6 separate regions of the Homo sapiens genome follow, and all the other regions are linked to region 1. Evidence: promoter capture Hi-C in 16 types of primary human blood cells and fetal thymus (Javierre and others, 2016). All regions are on one chromosome and are shown on one strand. Each heading gives the region's core, a stretch centred on a gene start or on the middle of the fragment in contact. The rest is flanking DNA. Distances are from core to core; before and after follow the strand shown.

Evidence for each region. Contacts are between HindIII fragments. The CHiCAGO score rates a contact against its expected background, and 5 or more counts as called.
Region 2: a contact is called between a fragment that was not itself captured here and the fragment with the promoter of KLLN in region 1, in 4 of 17 cell types (naive B cells, naive CD8 T cells, total B cells and 1 more). The highest score is 8.0, in naive B cells.
Region 3: a contact is called between a fragment that was not itself captured here and the fragment with the promoter of KLLN in region 1, in 5 of 17 cell types (naive B cells, total B cells, fetal thymus and 2 more). The highest score is 8.4, in naive B cells.
Region 4: a fragment that was not itself captured here is called in contact with the fragment with the promoter of KLLN in region 1 in 2 of 17 cell types (total B cells and naive B cells); the score reaches 5.6 in total B cells.
Region 5: a fragment that was not itself captured here is called in contact with the fragment with the promoter of KLLN in region 1 in 2 of 17 cell types (neutrophils and naive B cells); the score reaches 7.3 in neutrophils.
Region 6: a fragment that was not itself captured here is called in contact with the fragment with the promoter of KLLN in region 1 in 17 of 17 cell types (naive CD8 T cells, M2 macrophages, naive CD4 T cells and 14 more); the score reaches 35.0 in naive CD8 T cells.

The regions. Positions count from the first base shown.
Region 1 is chr10:87,862,254-87,865,389 of GRCh38, reverse strand. KLLN (killin, p53 regulated DNA replication inhibitor) reads left to right here and starts at 1,857. Exons shown (of 1, transcript NM_001126049.2): 1 at 1,857-3,136. The coding sequence starts at 2,903. It overlaps MLDHR (mitochondrial lactate dehydrogenase regulator), which reads right to left and starts at 1,831. Exons shown (of 1, transcript NM_001433720.1): 1 at 1,736-1,831. The coding sequence starts at 1,831. The coding sequence ends at 1,736. PTEN (phosphatase and tensin homolog) reads right to left here and starts at 1,765. Exons shown (of 9, transcript NM_000314.8): 1 at 842-1,765. The coding sequence starts at 920. RefSeq lists silencers at 1,471-1,610, 1,701-2,010 and enhancers at 2,611-2,790, 3,041-3,130. The HindIII fragment of the contact is 7,182 bases long and covers 1-3,136 here.
Region 2 is chr10:88,575,106-88,578,241 of GRCh38, reverse strand. All of the region lies in intron 3 of RNLS (renalase, FAD dependent amine oxidase), which reads left to right. Among named protein-coding and RNA genes, the nearest start is that of RNLS, 6.6 kb to the left of the region's middle. The HindIII fragment of the contact is 4,346 bases long and covers 1-3,136 here.
Region 3 is chr10:88,532,974-88,536,109 of GRCh38, reverse strand. The region is part of intron 4 of RNLS (renalase, FAD dependent amine oxidase); the gene reads left to right. Among named protein-coding and RNA genes, the nearest start is that of RNLS, 49 kb to the left of the region's middle. The HindIII fragment of the contact is 5,160 bases long and covers 1-3,136 here.
Region 4 is chr10:88,493,381-88,496,516 of GRCh38, reverse strand. The region is part of intron 4 of RNLS (renalase, FAD dependent amine oxidase); the gene reads left to right. Among named protein-coding and RNA genes, the nearest start is that of RNLS, 88 kb to the left of the region's middle. The HindIII fragment of the contact is 1,195 bases long and covers 1,055-2,249 here.
Region 5 is chr10:88,425,059-88,428,194 of GRCh38, reverse strand. The region is part of intron 4 of RNLS (renalase, FAD dependent amine oxidase); the gene reads left to right. Among named protein-coding and RNA genes, the nearest start is that of RNLS, 160 kb to the left of the region's middle. The HindIII fragment of the contact is 4,896 bases long and covers 1-3,136 here.
Region 6 is chr10:88,387,442-88,390,577 of GRCh38, reverse strand. All of the region lies in intron 4 of RNLS (renalase, FAD dependent amine oxidase), which reads left to right. Among named protein-coding and RNA genes, the nearest start is that of RNLS, 190 kb to the left of the region's middle. The HindIII fragment of the contact is 5,387 bases long and covers 1-3,136 here.

The sequences.
Region 1 (3,136 bases), core at 608-3,107:
ACACATTACCATCTGGGATCAGAAACTACTCAATATCCATTCTATGTTTATGACAAGAGCACTGAACATTAAATGCTACTGAAGTGCAAATTTCAAGCACTATCCTACATCACCCCATAGGGAGAGAAAAAGGTAAATATAACAAAGATCTAGTAAGAACGCCTTATAAGGTATATTATGGCACTATTGACTTCAAACTACAAAACTTCTACATACAGTTCAAAGTTGTAGGTAACTTAAGTTTAAACATTAACAAAACTACTTTTTGCCCTCAATGTGCACCATATATACTGAAAATGATTCTGCTTCTAAAGTTATGCAAATCAGTCATATTTTAAAAGAATCTATCAATGCAACTCAGGAAACTAAAACAATCACTGCAAGATTCTGATGCAATATGCGTACGTGCAACACTAATTTTCATTTTATTCTGATCTAAACCCTTGATCTAGGGCCTAAGCCAAGATTTAATCGAAATATGCTCAACCTCAAAAAGCGTCTACTTTTTTGTTCATTTAGGAGACCGGATTACCGAGCTCGCTAATCCACTAACAGTGTACTGTATTCTGTATTAACGGACAATAGCCCTCAGGAAGAGACCATATAGATAGCCTAAGAAAGCAATCGGTGGCTTGACACTTGCAACCAGGCAAGAGTTCCGTCTAGCCAAACACACCCTAGGTTGAATACACAGAAAGGAAACACAAAATATATGACCTAGCAACCTGACCAGGGTTAAATGTTATAGTCACCCAAACTACGGACATTTTCGCATCCGTCTACTCCCACGTTCTAAGAGAGTGACAGAAAGGTAAAGAGGAGCAGCCGCAGAAATGGATACAGGTCAAGTCTAAGTCGAATCCATCCTCTTGATATCTCCTTTTGTTTCTGCTAACGATCTCTTTGATGATGGCTGTCATGTCTGGGAGCCTGTGGCTGAAGAAAAAGGAGGAGAGAGATGGCAGAAGCTGCTGGTGGCGGGGCTTCTTCTGCAGGATGGAAATGGCTCTGGACTTGGCGGTAGCTGATGCCCCTCGCTCTGCCGCCGCTTGGCTCTGGACCGCAGCCGGGTAATGGCTGCTGCGGCGGCTGCTGGATGGTTGCAGCGACTGGGCCTGCTTCTCCTCAGCAGCCAGAGGCCTGGCAGCGGCGGCAGCGGAATGGGGAGAAGACGAATAATCCTCCGAACGGCTGCCTCCGCCGGCGGCCTCCGGAGCCCGGGCCACGGGGGGTGCGGCGGCGGCGCACGGGAGGTTTAAAACCGGCCCGGGTCCCTGGATGTGCCAGCCGCCGCCGCCGCCGTGTTGGAGGCAGTAGAAGGGGAGAGACCAACTCTCCGGCGTTCCCAGCCCTGGAAATGGTGACAGGCGACTCAGACCCCCTCCCTGGAGCTGCAGCCGCCGCGGCCGCCGCCGCCGCCGCTTCTCCCCCCCGCTCCAGGAGCGGGAGGTGCCGCCGCCGCCGCCGCGCCTCAGCCGGCTCCCGCCCGAGCCCACGGCTTCCACCTTCCCTTTCAGGAGAAGCCGAGGAAGAGGCTGCACGGTTAGAAAAGACGAAGAGGAGGCGAGAAACGCCGCCGCTGCCGCCGCCGCAGGCCGGCCGGCTCCCCGAGGGCGCTGCCCCCGCGGCTGCTCACAGGCGCTGAGAGGGGCTCCGGGCCGCGGCCGCCGCCGTCTCTCATCTCCCTCGCCTGAGCCCGGCCTCGCCTCACAGCGGCTCAACTCTCAAACTTCCATCATGGCTGCAGCTTCCGAGAGGAGAGAACTGAGCGCAGTCGCGTCCCAGCGCCGAGCGCGTATCCTGCCGCAGCGCATAAAGAGTCCCGCCACATCACCGCCCGCCGGCCTGCCCGCCCCCTCCGCCGCCGCGCCGGGAGCCCGGGCGCCTCGGAAGACCGAGGGGAGGCGGGAGGCGAGCGAGAGGCGGACGGGACCGCGCCGGGCGAGGGGAGGGCAGGGCAGGGCAGGGGGCGGTAGGAGGGGGCAGAGCGGTAGCTCTGGGTGCGAGCGCAGAGTCCCCAAGCCGCAGGCTCTACTGAGCATGCCCAGTGTAGCTGCCTGGGGCTTGCTCGGGCCGGTTCCCAGCCGCCAGCCTGCAGCTGCACTTGCTGCGGCTTTTGCAGCAACGCGAGGCGAGGATAACGAGCTAAGCCTCGGCCTCTGCCCAGAAACCCAGCCGGAGGCAGGGTAGGCTGTTGTGGGGCGGGGGTGGAGGACTGATGATGAAAGCTGAGATGGGTGCGTTGAGCAGTGTCACTGACTCGAGTCTGAGGTTACCTGTGCACAGGTGAAAAGGACCAGGTGACCACGCTGCTCAGTGTAGAGGGAAATGCAGGGACGGTCCCTGCAAGGGGAATACCCTCCCCCCTTGCCTCTACCCCTAGATTTCCGCGGCGTGGACTGCATTCGCTCTTTCCTTTTGCACCGCTGTCGGATCACAATCGTTCGCAGAGATTTGACTGTAACAGCCTTTGCCTAGAGATTCCCCCTTCCCCCAAATCTGTGTCCTCATGGTGTCAGTCTTAGCACAAAGAGCAACCTGCTATTGTGTCGCCAGCGTGTATCACCTCATCCGGCTCCCTTGCAGCGCCCCACCTCTCGCTTCCCCGGTAACTCGGCTCGTTTGCCCTAAAAATGAAAGCTCTCAGCCGAGCGTGCTGAACGTGAACACATAGCCGTTGAATTTCAAGGGCCCAAAGGGCACCTATCTAAATGAACTGAAAGAGGATCCCTGTGAGTGGGACGCACCCCGCAGGCCTCTCCTGCGCCCGCTCCGGTGCCCCCAAGAGAGTCGAGCATCTTTCCCCTCGGGCTCCAGGTCGGTTCGCGGCGTCGGAGTCAAGCTCGGTTCTCAGAGACCACCTAGCCCCGCCCCCCCTTGGCCGCCGTGAAAACCCGGCAGGATGGATCGCCCGGGGCCAGGCTCCGCGCGCCCCGGCCGGACCGTGCACGTTTGGGGTTACCGGGTTGAGTGGAAAGTACGGAACGGTAGGAAGCTGCAGCCCAGCGAGTGGGCGGGGCGAGGAGACCTAGGAGGGTTCAAAAGGAGGTGGAAGGATACACGGGCCACAGTCGGAACTACTTTCCGAAGGAGGTCACGTGTGTCCCTAGTTGGGGAACTTTCCAAATTCCCACTC
Region 2 (3,136 bases), core at 425-2,924, 710 kb before region 1:
TGAGGGTACTTACTACAGAATATTGTAATGGAAGTTCTTGCTACAAAGTGTTGTGAGGAATGAAAGATATAATGCACTCAAATTCAAGCAAGTAGTAAGCCAGTCACATAGTAATCTCTTGAAAAATGTTAGTTTAAAAAATATTGTACTTGAATGAAGCTGACCTTCATATATTCCTTACTTTAAGAAATCAAATTGCCAACTATTTTCAAAAATACTCTATATTTTGGAATCTAGTTGAGTTTAAAACCCCACAATCTGATGGACCAACCAGTGGTCATTCAGATTGGGACCAGACTCCCAGGGCAATTATTTGTCTGGGATATGCCTAATCAGGCATGCTTTAGAATAGGTTCAAACCTTTAAAGCCAATATTTAACTAGACCAATTTCCCAGAACAAATAGTAAAAGGTAAAGGAAATAGATGCTTTCTTCTTGACCTTATGTTCTATTTTAATTTATTGTCCGATGTGTTCACATTAACCTCATTGCAGAGAAAGCTGTATTTATTGGCATCAATTTCACTGACTGCCTGCCTTCTCCATTAATACAATCTTCTTGAGTGAGTGAAACATGATTTTCTTTTGTTCTTTTTTTATACTAGTTGTCATTATGCTGGGGTGAGAATTGACAATAGCAAAAGTGATTCTAGCTATCAGTTATTAAGTGCTGACTATTTATCTAATACTACCTGAGGTACTTTACGTATGTAGTTTCTAATTCTCACAGTAAATTTTCAAGGGAGTTAATCATCATCCCTATTTGTTAATGCGAAGAATGAGACTCAGGTACTTTGTCTAAGGTGGCTTGGCTAGTTGGTAACAGAACTGAAGTGCCTTTGCAATTAATCATGTTGTTTTTTTCTATTAAGTCTCTCATGGAGGGCAATGAGAGGTGCTCATACTCTCCAATTTAACATCTATTTTGTAGAGCCTTCTCTTTCCTTATTGATTATTTTCCTATAGTATGAAGATTGTACCCATCCCACCTGGTGCTACGTGTCAGTAGACACATGGTTCAATAGAACAACCTCATAGTTCCCTGTGCCCCTAGTTTCCCTCTTTCATCAGTTAATTCCTGACATAGGGGGAAGTGGATATTGAAGAGTAATACCACCTTAGTTCTTTATGCAACCTGGGAAATTGGTCACCTGATGGTTCCTGCCTATGACATGGAAAATGATGGGCCAGGTCCTTTTGCTTTTGAATAAGGTCCCATGTTACTAAATTATTCAAAAAAGATGAATTTAGCTTCCAGGACACAGAGTGAGCAGCTTTTATTTAGCTTGTCCTACCAATAGGGAGGGCTGTTGCTGCATTTATTTGTTTTTATTTTATCATCTACCTAAAAAGGACATTGGCTAGCGATCCAGAAAGTCAACATTTGCAAAGTAACCTGTCAAAATTGACAAGATCAATTTATTAGAAAAAAATGGTTTAGGTGGCAGATGCCATTAGCTAGGATGGCTTCTGTATTGTAATATTTACTTTTATTATTCTCTCTCTTTTTACTTTTGTGCCTATTTTCTTTCTAAAATTGATAGAGGGGAAGTGAGTCTGGGTGGTTCTGTCTCAAAATTTCTCCCAGCAGGTGATCCTGGCACTCATCCGTAACGATGTCCTTTTTAGAGAAGCTAGAGGATGGCATGAAAACCAGGTTAAGCATTCTTCTATTTACTTCAAGCTGTGTAGTCAGTTAGAGATGGTTCACATCACTTCAGGTCCCACCTGAGCAGTTCTGACTGCTGCTCACTAAAACCTATTTGTGGGAAATCATAGGAGAAACATAAACTTGGATTTTCTCCTTAAAATGGAGGAAGGCCAGGGATAAAATTGAATAAATATATAACAGAAACACATTTGCCTTTGTAAAATGTTTAAACCTTCTTAGACTTCTGATATCTTTATAGCTATCTGAAGATCATTTTATTCTAATTAAATATTATGTGCTGGGGAAACAAAAGTCAATAAGAGACATGATCCTGGCCTCTGTTAATGTAGAGTATAGTGGGAAGAAAAGACATTAAACTAATTATACATACAAAGAAAAGATGCATGATAAATGTTAAGAAGAAAGAGTGAGAGCATTATGAGAGAACTTACAATAAAAGGACCTAGCCCAGTAGGTTTTAGAGGAGTGATGGGGGAGATGTGTTAGGGAAAGCATCCCTGAGGAACTGATATTTTCATGGGTACCTGAAAGGTGGGCAAGAGGGAATTAGGCTGAGAGCTGAATGATGAGAGTTCAATGCAGTGGACACATCAAATTGGAACTGTTTTGAAGCAGTAGGAGGAGGTTAGTGCATTCAAGGAATAAAAGATCATTATGACTGGACGGTAGTGAGTGAGGGAGAAAATGGTAAAAGATGATGCTCAAGACTAAGGCAGGGCCAGGTTATACAGGGCTTTGTAAGCAATGTTAAAGATTTTATACTCTAAGTGCGATGGGAAGCCATTGAAGGGTTTTATGCAAGAGAGGGACATGGTCAAATTTACTAAGCTCAGACATAACTCTTGAGACTATTTATTTATCCATTTTAAAATTGGGTTTTTCAGAGCTTATAGATTTAAACACATAGTCTTTGTGAAAGTTATTAATTACTTTCACAAGGAAATGCCACTTTCCCAAAAACTTTGCTCCAAGCAGTTGGAAAGGAAGCCTTTCTGGTTAATAAGAGAGGCTATACCATTTCTCCTACCTCTTGATAAATGCTGCTTTTTGGGTGGTTTTGCCAGTGGTGTTTGATTTGGGCGTGTCCACCTACCCCAGTGGTTCTCATACTTTAGCGCGCATCATGACAAGACTAAGGGAGCTTGTTAAACATGGATTGCGAGGCTCAATTCCCAGAGTTTCTTATTCAGTATGGTCGGGTTGGGGCCCAGGAATGTGCATTTTCTAGTACATAGGTGCTGCTGGTCTGGGGTTCATACTTAGAGAACCACTGACATATATATATATACACACACACACACACATATACATATACACCTTGGTGTATATATATGTGTATATATATATATATATATACACACACATATATATATAGTATATATATATAATATGTGTGTGTGTGTGTGTGTGTATATATATATATATATATATATATATATATATATACTTTGCAGAACACCTTGTG
Region 3 (3,136 bases), core at 231-2,730, 670 kb before region 1:
CTTATGTGGTATTGCACCTATTGTTAGGTATCAGAGCCAGGCTTCAAACTCAGGCCTGTCTGATTGGAAAGTCCATGCTCCTTATCACCTCTAGATACCATCTCTCAGATCTCTCAATTCTATTTTATTTTACTGAGATGGAGGATATTTCATCTTCAAAATCTTAGCATTATCTTTTATTCTTCTCTCTACTTTCTCTTTATTTCTTTAATAGCCTTTAAGTCATCTTATTTCTTTGCAGATTTCTTTCTAAGAAAAGGTTCATCTGAGATATGCCATTTCCACTTTCAACCTTCCCTAGAATCCTAGCTGTGGTTCCTCTTGACTTGAGTTACTGAGATAGTTTCTCAACACTTTCTTCTACTCTAGTTTATTATTTCTATCATTTGACTCTTCAAGCACTACTCTCATTTTGTATTTCCCCTGACCCAAACTTCAGCTGTAGGGACTCATTATTGTTTATTTTATCAGTAATGAGTCCTACTACCTAGGTTTTTTTTATCTTTTTTTTTCCAACTTTTAAGTTCAGGGGTACATGTGCAGGATGTGCAGGTTTGTTACGTAGGTAAACGTGTGCCATGGTGGTTTGCTGAACAGATCATCCCATCTCCTAGGTATTAAGCCCAGCATCCATTAACTATTCTTCCTGATGTTCTCCCTCCCCCAACCCCTCCCCCACTACCTGGCTTTTAAAACCTTCTGTATAATAAGTCCTTCTTCCCTCTCCCGTTTCCAACCTATACAACTACTCCCAGACTGCCTTCTTGGTTTCAGTCAACCTGATTTTATCTCTGCTTTGTTCACTACCCTCCTCTCACCACACATACTCACTTATACACATTACACACTTGTGTTTGTTCCATTGTTTGTCTTTAATCCTGTCTCCTCCTAGAATGGGAAAATAACAATACTTACAGTAAGAAATAGCAGTAACCATTTATTGAGAACTATGTGAAAAACACTGTCATGATTTTTAATATTACTTTATTTAATCCTCATGTTATATAGATATTATTGCCCCAATTGATCAAAACTTTTTAATTATGAAATGTTACAAATGTATTTTTAAAAACCCATGAACAATATAACTGACACTCAGGGACCCGTCTCTCATATTTATTTATGTAAAGTATTTGCCATTTTTGCTTTGATTTTTTCTGTCTCCAAGGTTTAGGATTAGGTGACTTGCTCAAGTCACACTGCTACTAAATGACAGTGCTTATATTTGAACCCAGCTGATACCTGACTGTCTGTTAGTGTCCATGTAAATGTCTCCCTCCAACTCCCACATTTCCTATTTATTTCAAGGTCTCATCTCCTCCAGATGATGTTTCCTCACAGGATTCTATCCTGCTTTTGGTCCTTTCTAAGAATACAAGTTGAGATTTATTCATTTAGCCAACAAATATTTATGAAGCCTTTTTAGAGTCCAGGAACTATACTGTTATCTTTTCATGGCTTGTGTAATTCTCAACACAGCCTATGATGGAATTGCTGATACTGATTTCATTGACACAAGAGGAATCCACGGTTTAGAGATTAAACCACTTCTTCAGTACTATTAGGGGTTCAAGCTAGCACCAATCTCAGGTGTATCTGACTCTCAAGCCAATGCTTTTAATAACTTCTAAAATCTTTATTTATTGAAGAATAATTTTTTATTATTTCTTATAATTGTAGTTAGTATGAAATGCCAGCTCAGAGCAATTCCCTATTTCAAGCCTCTGCTGTCTCCTATTTTAAAAGGTGAGGATGTTCATGTCCAGAGGATTTATATGACCAGTATTAGGTCACACAGCTACACAGGGGAGCCAAGGGTAGAACTCTTGCTAAATGTTGCCTAATTCAGGGCTTCTATGTTACATAATGCTGCAGGTCTCCAGTCCATAAAACAAATTTAAACCACTTTTGTTTGTCCTTTGCTAAATCATTCTCTTAAAGGCCATCCCCAGTGACCTCCTCATCATGACATCTAAATTAGCCTATAGTCTGCCTTCCTTGTTTCAGTGCCTTCTTTATAAATTTCTTCTTCCCTTAGCTAATCAGGATTGAAACTCTCCTTGTTCTACTTCTAACTCTAATCACACCTTCTCTTCCTTCTTTGTTAGTTATTTCTTCTCTCTCCTCCTAAAATATAGGCAATTTTCAAGGCTTTGTCTTGGACCTTCGTTTTCGTTGCTCCCTTCATTAGCAATTTCATCTACCCCAAGGCTTTCCGTGCTGAAGATTTCAAATCTTTATTTTTAGACTGATTTCTCCTCCAAGATTTAGACCTAGGGTTTAGACTATTTGTGGGATTCTACTTGTGTATGGTTACTTTAGACATCACTGTCCTCACCAAACCTGTTTCTCTCTTCATGTTCAGTGCAGTGTCACTCCCTGTCTTGTCATTCTGTCTGTCAGAATCCCCTGCTTCCCTTACCTCTTGCCTGCACTTCTATAGAAGCCCTTTAAGGGATCTGCCTATCGTTAGTCAAATCCCACTTCACTCCATCCTCACAACTGAAACTAAAGTACTATTCCTAACAGTACCTTAGGTAATTTTGCTCTCCTGTGCAAATAAACTTTGAGGGGTTCCCCAGTGCTTATGGACTAAAATTGGGTCTTCAAAACCCTTTTAAAAATCTGATTTCAACTGACCTTTAAGGTCAAATCAAAGTATTTCTTTTCTTCTTGACATGTCTATATGTTTCCATTTCTGTATCTTTTTTCTAACACTGTTTTTTTCTTTAGAAAGTATTTCCATGTTTCTGTTAAGACTCAGTTCATCCTTCAAGGCTGCCTCCTTTTATCCTTTTATTCTATCCTCAGCCAAAAGTAATACTTGGTGGTGCTCTTTAACCAATGATGATTTGTACTAAAGAAAAGGCCAAGCTGTGGCCAACATTTCTTAATAAATAAGAATAAGAGAATTGACTGGCACTCTAACTTGAAAAATGAAACTAAAGATTATACATTACAAACATGTTTATTTACTTATAATTAATAAATTTAGGTTGTAATTGAAATTATGTGCTAATTCTTAGAATATACAAAGAGCAATTAAATGTTTATTTTGTTGGGGCACAATTTTCTAACAATTGTATGACAGAATAATTCAATAACATGATTTTGACTTTTGCAGCACCAACATAAA
Region 4 (3,136 bases), core at 403-2,902, 630 kb before region 1:
CTCCAATTCTGGTTCAAGTTCATATTCTCCAGTCCAGAAGTTAACCAGGCTAGTTTTTCTGCATTTCAGTGTCTGAAGAAGTAAAGCGTCAGGCCACTGCTTCTTCCTTCTGCTATGGCATTCCTGAAGCGTGCACTGGGTTTAGCATTTGCCAGGTTAATGAAATTCTAAATAGTTCTCTTGGAAATTTTCGGTTCTTTTCTCATAATATAATCCCCTGAGGGAACCCAGTTTTACAACTTGAAGATCTTATCAATTCCTTAATTCCTGGGGTTTTAATTACTGGCTTGGATTCATACAGTCTTGTCTATAACCACTCTGTCTGTTGGGTAATTGCTCTCTACCTTTCATAGATAATTTCAAATTGTTTTCCCTTACAAGTGTTTTTCTGGGGTACTTCTCCCCTTCCAGAAGCTGCATAAATGTTCTCTCCCCTCTTCCTTCTGTCCCCTTTGCCTTCTGCAACCCATATGGAAAGCAAAACAGACAAGTTAAAAATGTTTGTCTTATTTCCCTTTTTGTCTTCTGCATCCCCAACCACGACTTTTTAAAGCTGCCTTCCTCTATCCTGCCCCAGTTTTTCAAATATGTTCTGTCTTTTTTTCTTTCAAAATTCCCACTTGAAGCCGACACCTGACACTCACCAAAATCCTGAACCAAAAGAAAAAAATGCTGAGATGCATATTCCTAAATTCGCTCATTTCCAGTCATACTGCCTTTAACCACGGATTCCTTGTCACTTGGGCTTTGCCCTAGCTAAACCCAAACCAGTTTTCCATATCCCTTCCATTTCTCATCCCATCCCTGCCCCACTCTTCTTTACTCATTCTTATGCTGCCCTCCTCTCAATACACTGCTCTCTCTCATTTCCATTTCTATATTCTCTCCTTCTCTGCAAATTTTCCTCCTCTCTCATCCCCCACTGGTAGCCCTTTTTGATTTCTTTTCAGTATGTTCCACTCACTTAAATGGAGATTACTTTGACATAATCCTTGTGCGGTAATGAGAGCAGATGTATTATATACACTTTTTTACAAAGATAATATCTGAAGCTTGCAAAGTTTAATCTACTTGTCTAACATAATATAACCATTTGCCATAAGAGTTATAGACCCAAAGCCTCCTTGTCATACTTGGTTTATCTAATGATCCCCCCTCCCTCTTGCAGCTAAAGATGGAGATAACAAATTGACTCTATTGACTATTTTTCTCAAGTCATATCAACATCTGTGTGTACCTTTCTTAGAAAGATAACTTTCATATTTTTGCAACAAGTAAAACATGCAATGCTTGGAAAGTCCCTGTACAAAAATCTTTGTCCAGAAGTTGTACCAGTTTATTATTTAACATTGCTTCTTAAAAAAAGAGTGGGATGTTTAACATATCTAAAATTAGGTAATGGAAATAGGATTTGCTGTCATCACTAGGAATTATATCTGTTGTAGGAGAGGTTATAAAAAATATATAGGACATCTTTCCCCTTCAAAGTAGTTGCTGAATTAGAGGCGAATCTAAGTGTCAAACCTGTAAAAATTTGGGGAAGGATGCCTGGACTTTTTCAGACATAGGAAGGAAGTGGCAGTAGTTGAATGTTGTTACTTATTCTCCTGAGTAAAGAATATAGGGACCTCAGAGTAACCCTTGGCTGTTTTCTTGATGTCCTGAAATTTCTGCTGAACTGTTTAATTTAAAAGAACCAAAACTTAAGTCTGGTCTAGAGAAAGGGTTCACCACTAAATTTGGCAGGCACCTATCAGAGTTGCTTCCAAATCACACAATTGGTGAACATTGGTACCACAAGTTGGCCAAGGTCTCTAGGCCCAACTCTAATCCTCTTCTGATATATCTCCTTCACACTGGTAATATTACTCCTTGAAAATAGTTCCTCCACCAGGCTGGTTTTTGAATATGTACCATTCATATTCAGAAAAACTTAACACATAATTTCTGAATAATCTTGAGTCACCTTAGAAACAATGCAATGAATATTTTCTAAAAGTAAGTAGAGGTTCAAGTAAATACTTTAATGAAATGAAAAGAAAATAATAAATATGGTTCCATTACATTACAGAATCTTTTATTAATTTTATTCACTCACATTTAAGCTCTTTACTTATTCTTTTGTTCCCCACTGGCCCAGAAGAGAGACTTGTTCATGGCATGACTGAAGAAAATGTCTTACTGAAAGGATAGGTGAACAAATACTCCATTTATATGCTGATTATTAAGGAAGTGAAAGCCACTAAGCTTTTTCATATTTTCACCATTTTACAAACAGTATGTAACATTTTTCCGTGTAACTTCCTATTGTGGAACTTTCTCTCCTCTGAAGCTAATTACAGTGCTGTTCAAAATCTGAATATCCTCAACTCTTGCTTTCCTTGTTCTTTTCAATATCTGTCATTGTGAATGCATGTGTTTTAACAGAATCCATATGTTTCTTATTTTTATTACCTTATTTTTGTGTGTGTGTCTACTGTGCATATCATGCATGGCTCTTGGCATGCATATCATGACAAAGGATAATCAGTTTTCTTTTAGTTTAATTTTAGAGCCAGGATTTAAGACATCATCGTTTGAATGTCTTCCAGTGTTCTCCATTTTGTTTATGGTCTGCCAATGTTCACAATTGTTCAGGAATGTTTTTATAACCCAGTCGTCAGCAGTGGTAGAAAGCACCACTGACAGATGCAGCTCTGAATGACTTTACATCCCCCATCATATAAAAGGAAACAATCACAGTAGTTGAGATTTGTGCCTCTTAAGCTGTTGACCTTACAGTGAAAAAGCAAAGAGAGGGAGAAGGAGAGAGAGAAATGGAAGGGAAACTGTATTCTCCTACAATTTAAAAAAGCCCCTAAGTTCATAGATCTATCCCTGCAACAATGTAATACAGCAATCTTGAGCTGATTTATAAAATGACAAGAACAAATAGATCACTCATTTTTTAAAAAGTAAATTGTCAGGAAAAAAATGAGAAACTTTCAAATTAGAAAATTATCTAGGAGAGGGCAATTTGCTGAGTGTTTTTTTTTAAATCACAATAATTGATGTCATATTGTAGCTATTCATTAACCAATAGCTGATGCACAACTTACATGCTTCCCTCTGTTCTTATATATGATTTCTGTTAACA
Region 5 (3,136 bases), core at 327-2,826, 560 kb before region 1:
TGAGAAATGGAAATGGAGCGAGAGATTCGGGAAATTATGATCAGAAATAAAATTCTTTTAAATGCTAACATACAGATCTTTTGTCCAATGTTAACAACAGTCTTTGCCCTTTTGCTTTGCATTATTTCTGCCTTTAAACCTCTAGTCTTTTTTTTTATTGTTCAAGGTATGTCCAGTCTTCATAACAATTCTGACAGAAACAGAGAGTTGATTTCCACTCTACTGTCTCCTAGTAAAGGCAACATAGTACAAAGAAAACGTAAGCATATCTAAGCTGTCTCTGCTACTCAGCTTTTTGACTGGGAGGAACTTACTTAACCATGCTGTAGTTCAGTTGCTTCCTATATGAAGTGAGATCATAAGCCATGGATCATTCTGAGAACAACATGAGTTACTATAAAGTATGTCAAATGCACAGCATATGGAAGATATCCAATCAACATCATTTGTATCTTTTCCCTTTAATGACTTTAAGAATATGACTGATTTCTCTCTGTTCTATGGAGTTGTTGATACATTTTCCTTTATTTGTATCAAATAGTAAGTAGATTTTTATTTGGCCACCAGAATTCAACAGGAATAATGCAATCTCCAATTCCTGTACTATAGTTGATTATGGTTTTCTGTTCTTTGAACTTGAAAAGAGATATGATTTTCATGCCTGCATCTGGAGTTTACAAGTTGAAATGTGTCAGGTAGGTGAAATATCTTACTTTAAGAGAAAGAGCAGTTAATATGCAAATATTAGATATTGGAAAGAGATCAACAATTGTCCACCCTTGGATGGAGGCAGAGACATGGATTATCCAAAATCTCAAATAATTCTTCTTGTTCTGAAATGCCATAAAGAGCCAGCCACCCTGTCAAAGAAATATAGACTTACCCCTCAATGCCATACCCTGATTCCACTCCAGCACAGTAGGACTTTTGGCATTCTAACAGATCAGTAGAATCCACAAGGCTGATAACCATAAGGTAATTGTAGGGATAATGAGTATAGTGTGGTAGTAAAGATTAGACGCACTAGTCCTTGCTAACTGTGTGAATTGTGATAAAGATTAAACAAACCTCTTTCTATTTAACCACGAATCTCCAATTTTCTTTTTGCAAAATGGTGGTAATAATGGTACCTGTGGGGAGTACCAGACACATATAGATGCTTAATCAATATTAGATACTGTTTTTATTAGTTACTAAAAGGAAACCATTTCCTGTTTATGTAATTCTAACCACCATTACAAAGTAAAATAATGTAGGCTCTTCCCATCAATTTACTCCACCCATTTTAGCTTTTCTTAGGTTTAACTGATCTTTATCTGACATCTTTCTGAGGGCTTCCCCTCCCCATGTACTACTGTTACCCCCTAGGATCTTCACACTTATGAGAAAGCTGTGTTATGTGCTGGTTAAGAACAGGGCTGAACTTGAACCCTGGCTCCTCCTCCTTACTGTCTTTGGTGCCTTGGCCATCTCTAAGAAGGTATGTATGGAAGGGGATAATAATAGTACCTGTCTCATGGGGTTGTTGTGGTAACTGAGTTAATACATGCAAAGCATCTAGAACAGTGCCAGGCAAGTAGTATGTGATCTGTGAGTGATAGCTATGATTAAATGCTAGCAATTAGAAATAACAAAATTTCTTCATCTTTTTTCTCTTCTAAAAACATTTGCTTATTAAGGGGGCCTGACTTCCTCTTGTGAATTTTTTTTCCCTGTATCTCCTCCTTTTCTTTTTCCCAACAGTAAAAAAAGGGGGAATTGGGGGGAATGTTTTCTATATATAACTTACAGCCCTCATAAGTTGTCAGTACAAATGTCCTATGTTACAATATTGAAGACATAAATGATGATGACTCCCTCCTTGGCCTCTATTCTGTGTTTCCCACTATTCACATGAGCCTACTTCATTGGAACAGGATTTTGGTGAACTGCCAAATGTGCCCCAAGTTTGACATGGTATGACCTTCAGTATGGGTTTTAATTCTTGTGTACTTCTCTGTGTTCCACATTAGACTGTGATCTTCTTGAGTACAAAGAGCCATATTCTAATTTCATTGTGTCTACAGCACCTAATACACATACCGCTAAACTGCCATATAACAAACTAAATGAATGAATGAAGTCATATTGAAAGTATACTATTCTAGCCCTCTGTCCAGCAACAGAGTAAACTTCCAAGTTAGTTTTGGGATAATTCTGGAACTTTAAAATTTTCAGGGACACTTGTGCATTCTATTCTAGGTCTTTCTCCCTCCCTAATTTTATCATTCCTGCCACAGTTCATTGACCCCCTACTCCAAACACACTTTGTGTTTTCCTGTATCTGTGCCCTACTCTTACCATTCTTTTTGGAATGTCTTTTTCTACTTATCTGAATCTTTAGCTCACACCTCACATCAACGTTTTTTTCTCTACCCTAAGTGTAAGTCATTTCACCTTTTTCTAACCTTCTATAGCAGCTGATGTCTAAACCAATTAGCTGTCACTTAACACATACAGTTTTGTATTTTTAGCTATCATTTTTAAGAAAAATACTTAAACAGATTTTAAATTCCTTGAGAGCAATGATCATGTCTTATACTTCTGTACCTCATACTAGGTGGAATACCCAATAAATCATTGTTAATGAGGTGGCTTACTCAAAGCCACCTTAGACATACTGCCAGGCAATATAAAACTAAATGCAGCATAATGAAAACATTAATTTGTGGGTAAATAGGAAGATTCATTGTACAGAAACACATTAGGACAAAGACAGAAGTTGCCAGCAGTTTCAACTTTATTAGCTCCTTTTGACTTTTTGCTTTATTTGTATTTGGTTTGATGCATCTTTTAATTTTTGTTTTATTTATGCTTTGGGGCAGGGGTAGTGGGGAAAAGGCATTTAACTTTACTCTAAGTCTAGTTTTATGTACTAACAAAAACTCTACTGAAGAATTGTTTATTTTACAATGAAACATTTCAAAACAAAACGAGACAACTAATGCATCTCTGCCATCTGTTCTGATGAAGCGTGGGGAAAGAATAGATGGGGGTGAAATATTATATGCACAGTTCCCTTCCTCCCCTTCAAAACTTTCAGTAACATGCTGCCAATGGCTGTGGCATGGATATCACCCAGTTTTACGGTGTGTGG
Region 6 (3,136 bases), core at 227-2,726, 530 kb before region 1:
CCAATAAGAAAACCAACAAGCTGACTAAATGCATGTGTGCTATGGTCCCTGCTCACTACTCCTCTGCCCCACATTCCACCTTTCAGGAAGTTTGAGTACTGAAATAATACTAAATAATTTGCAGACACTTTGGGGGATTGGATGCTCAAACACTTTTTTCCCCTCTTTTATCTTATTTGGAATGAGAGTTTTATTTAGTGCATTCAGACGAACGAATATTAAAAACTTCCTTAGGTCCTCAAAGAAGGGCCTTGACATCTTTCCTTAGTGAGCTGGTCCAATGTTCTAAATCCTCTGAGCAGGATCCCTGTGGTGTGTGACCCAGATAGCGTCCCAGAGACTTTCACTTTATTTCCTTGTGAAGACACGTGAAAGCTGCTTTATCAAGGAGTCACTAAGTCTGGTCACAACACAGTTTCAAGGAACCAACACTGGGACACTTACCATTTTGATGATTTTATCAGCTTTGATGGTGAGCCTAATTACAAAAGTCCTATCAAATGAATATCCACTGGTTCTTGATAGACCACAACCAAATTGTATTTCCCCCTTGTGTTCCTAGCTATTTATGAATATTGTTGCAAATGCTGTAATTGCCATCACCTTCTTCTGACTTTCTCAATATAATACCTAATTAGTCAGTGTCAGTGTTGCCAGATGATATGAAATGCTGTGGCTTCTGGCCCTCATTTTCTAATGGATTTGGAATTGTATGTATTTATGTCATTGCTCTTCCTTTATAGCAACTACATGCCCTATCCCTGAATCTGTAAATATTCTGAGGCAGGTATATCTTGTAGTCCCCCAATAGCAAGAGTACCCTGCTTATAGTTTTTGGACATTTGTATTTAATGTTGCTCCTTTTATTTCTGTATGCATTCTCACTAGATAGGGCTTTAGCTTTAAAAACTGTGCGAATTTCATTCCACCAGAGGGCACCATGGTAAACTTCACTTTCAAAAGGATCCTTAACAACTCAGTTAAGAAATCCCTAAAAGGATCCTTAACAACTCAGTTAAGAAATCCCTAAAACCGAAATATTGAAACAAATGAATGTAATTAAAGCAGCAATACCTTTGACCAAGATATTTATTCCATCGTGACTTTTAAATCTCTATAGAATGATTCATTTTGCTAAGGGTATGTTAATCACTCTCAAGCACAACTTTGACAAATCAAAAATAGATAGCAGGCTTTATTATGGCCAATGTGTGAGCTCCACAGACTGTCAAAAAAAGAAAACAACAATAACAAAAAAAAACCCAGCACAGTTCTGTTAGGAGACATACCTCTCCTTTTCTGGCTCCAAAAGAGAATGAATGCTTTTTGAATCCTAGGAGGTAAACCAATATCGTAATTTCCTACATGCTACAAAATAGCCATCTTTAGTAAAGCTCCAATTTCAGGGTGGATTTTAATTGTTTACTACTAATAAACCTTGGGAGTTAATTTATACCATCCCTCAAGTCCCAACACAAACAGATTCCCTTTTCCAGAACTCATGGTGGCAAGATTCCATAGAACTCCCCAGATGATGGCAGCTACTATCAGAGCTCTCAACTCTGACAGGAATTAACAAATAACAGGTTACAAACAGGAAACACAGTGTCTCATATCCATGGCTCCACTGATGCATGGTACTATGTAACATGTAGGGTATGTTAATTCCCTGATATTTATTCACTTATTCATTCGACACATAGTTATTGAGTATCTCCTGTGTACCACGTTGTAAGCTCTGGGGATACAGTGATGAGGGCAATTGACCTGATCCTTGTCTTAATGGAGTTTGATTACTAGTAGGGGGAAGTCATATAAAAAGACGATGATAAACAAGGAATCAAATAAAAACATAAGTAATTTCAGTTTGAGAGGTCACAGAAAGTTAATAAAAAGGTTCTATGAGAATGAAGGGAACTCTCACACAGCTTGTGAGAGTAGGACTGTCTGTGTAGATAGCATGAGATAGGAGAAAGAGCTAGCCATGTGATAACATGGAGACAGGGACCAGCAAAATATTTAAGTCTCTTCAGCTGGAAAGACTGTGCTGTGTTCTGATAACAAAAAGGAGGCCTCCATAGCTAGAACAGTGAGTCCTAGGCAGAGTGAGGCAAATTAAACTGGGGCCAGATCCTGGGAAGGATTTTGAATTATTCTCAGGCATGTTTTAAGCAGGATGGCATAGTCCAGAGAATGGATTTCAAGGGAAGGAGGCAAGAGCTGGGGAAGACAGGGTGCCAGAAAGTATTGAAACCAAATAGCAAGTTATTGCAGTGGCTCAGAAGGAGAAAACAATGGTGATTATGGAGATGAACAGAGTAGCCTTATTCAAGGTGTGTTTTAGAAGTAGAATCTACAGGACTTGCTGATAAATTAAACATGGAAAGAAAATTAAGACAAAGATGACTTACAGGTTCTTAGCTTGAGCAACTGGGTGAATGGTTATGTTGTCGACTAAGCCTGAGGAAGGAACAGCTTTCAAGGATAGATGGAAGGAATAATTAGGTATCCAACTTCTACGTGTTAAATGAAAGGCGACTGTGATACACCCCAGGGAAATATATTCAGGACTGCCCTCTGAGCCCTCTAGACATAGGTTTCATTTGTACCACAACCATCTCCCCTTCCAAATACCCACAGAGATGTTTCCTATATCTATGTTTTCAAGGTGTGTGGTCGTGAAGAACAGGGAGCCCTTCACTCCTGTCTGCATTGCCCGCTAAACTACAGGCTGACGTGCCTTCTGATTTTCTTTTCTGCTGTCAGAGCATTTGCTTCCCTCTGTCCTACAGGACAACTCTAAATCATTATCTCCACAACACCTGCTCCATATCAAAAGTGTTAGATTTTTAGCCAGAAGACATGCACTATTTTTCTTACTAGCTGGGTGACCTGGGGCATGCCATTTAACTTCTGGGAGCCCTGCAGGTCTTTGTAAAGACAATATCAATGATTACATGTAAAAGCACTTTGTAAACTGTAAGCAGTTACGTAAATAGGCTTGTTATTCTCATTTTTGTCTCAGTCTCCACCACTGTAACAAATAATCTTCCTTTTTTTTTTTTTTTTTTTTTTGCTCTGTTCTCCTCGCTTTTCTTCTTGCGTGCTTCTTCTGTCTCTTGTCCTTTCTGCCACA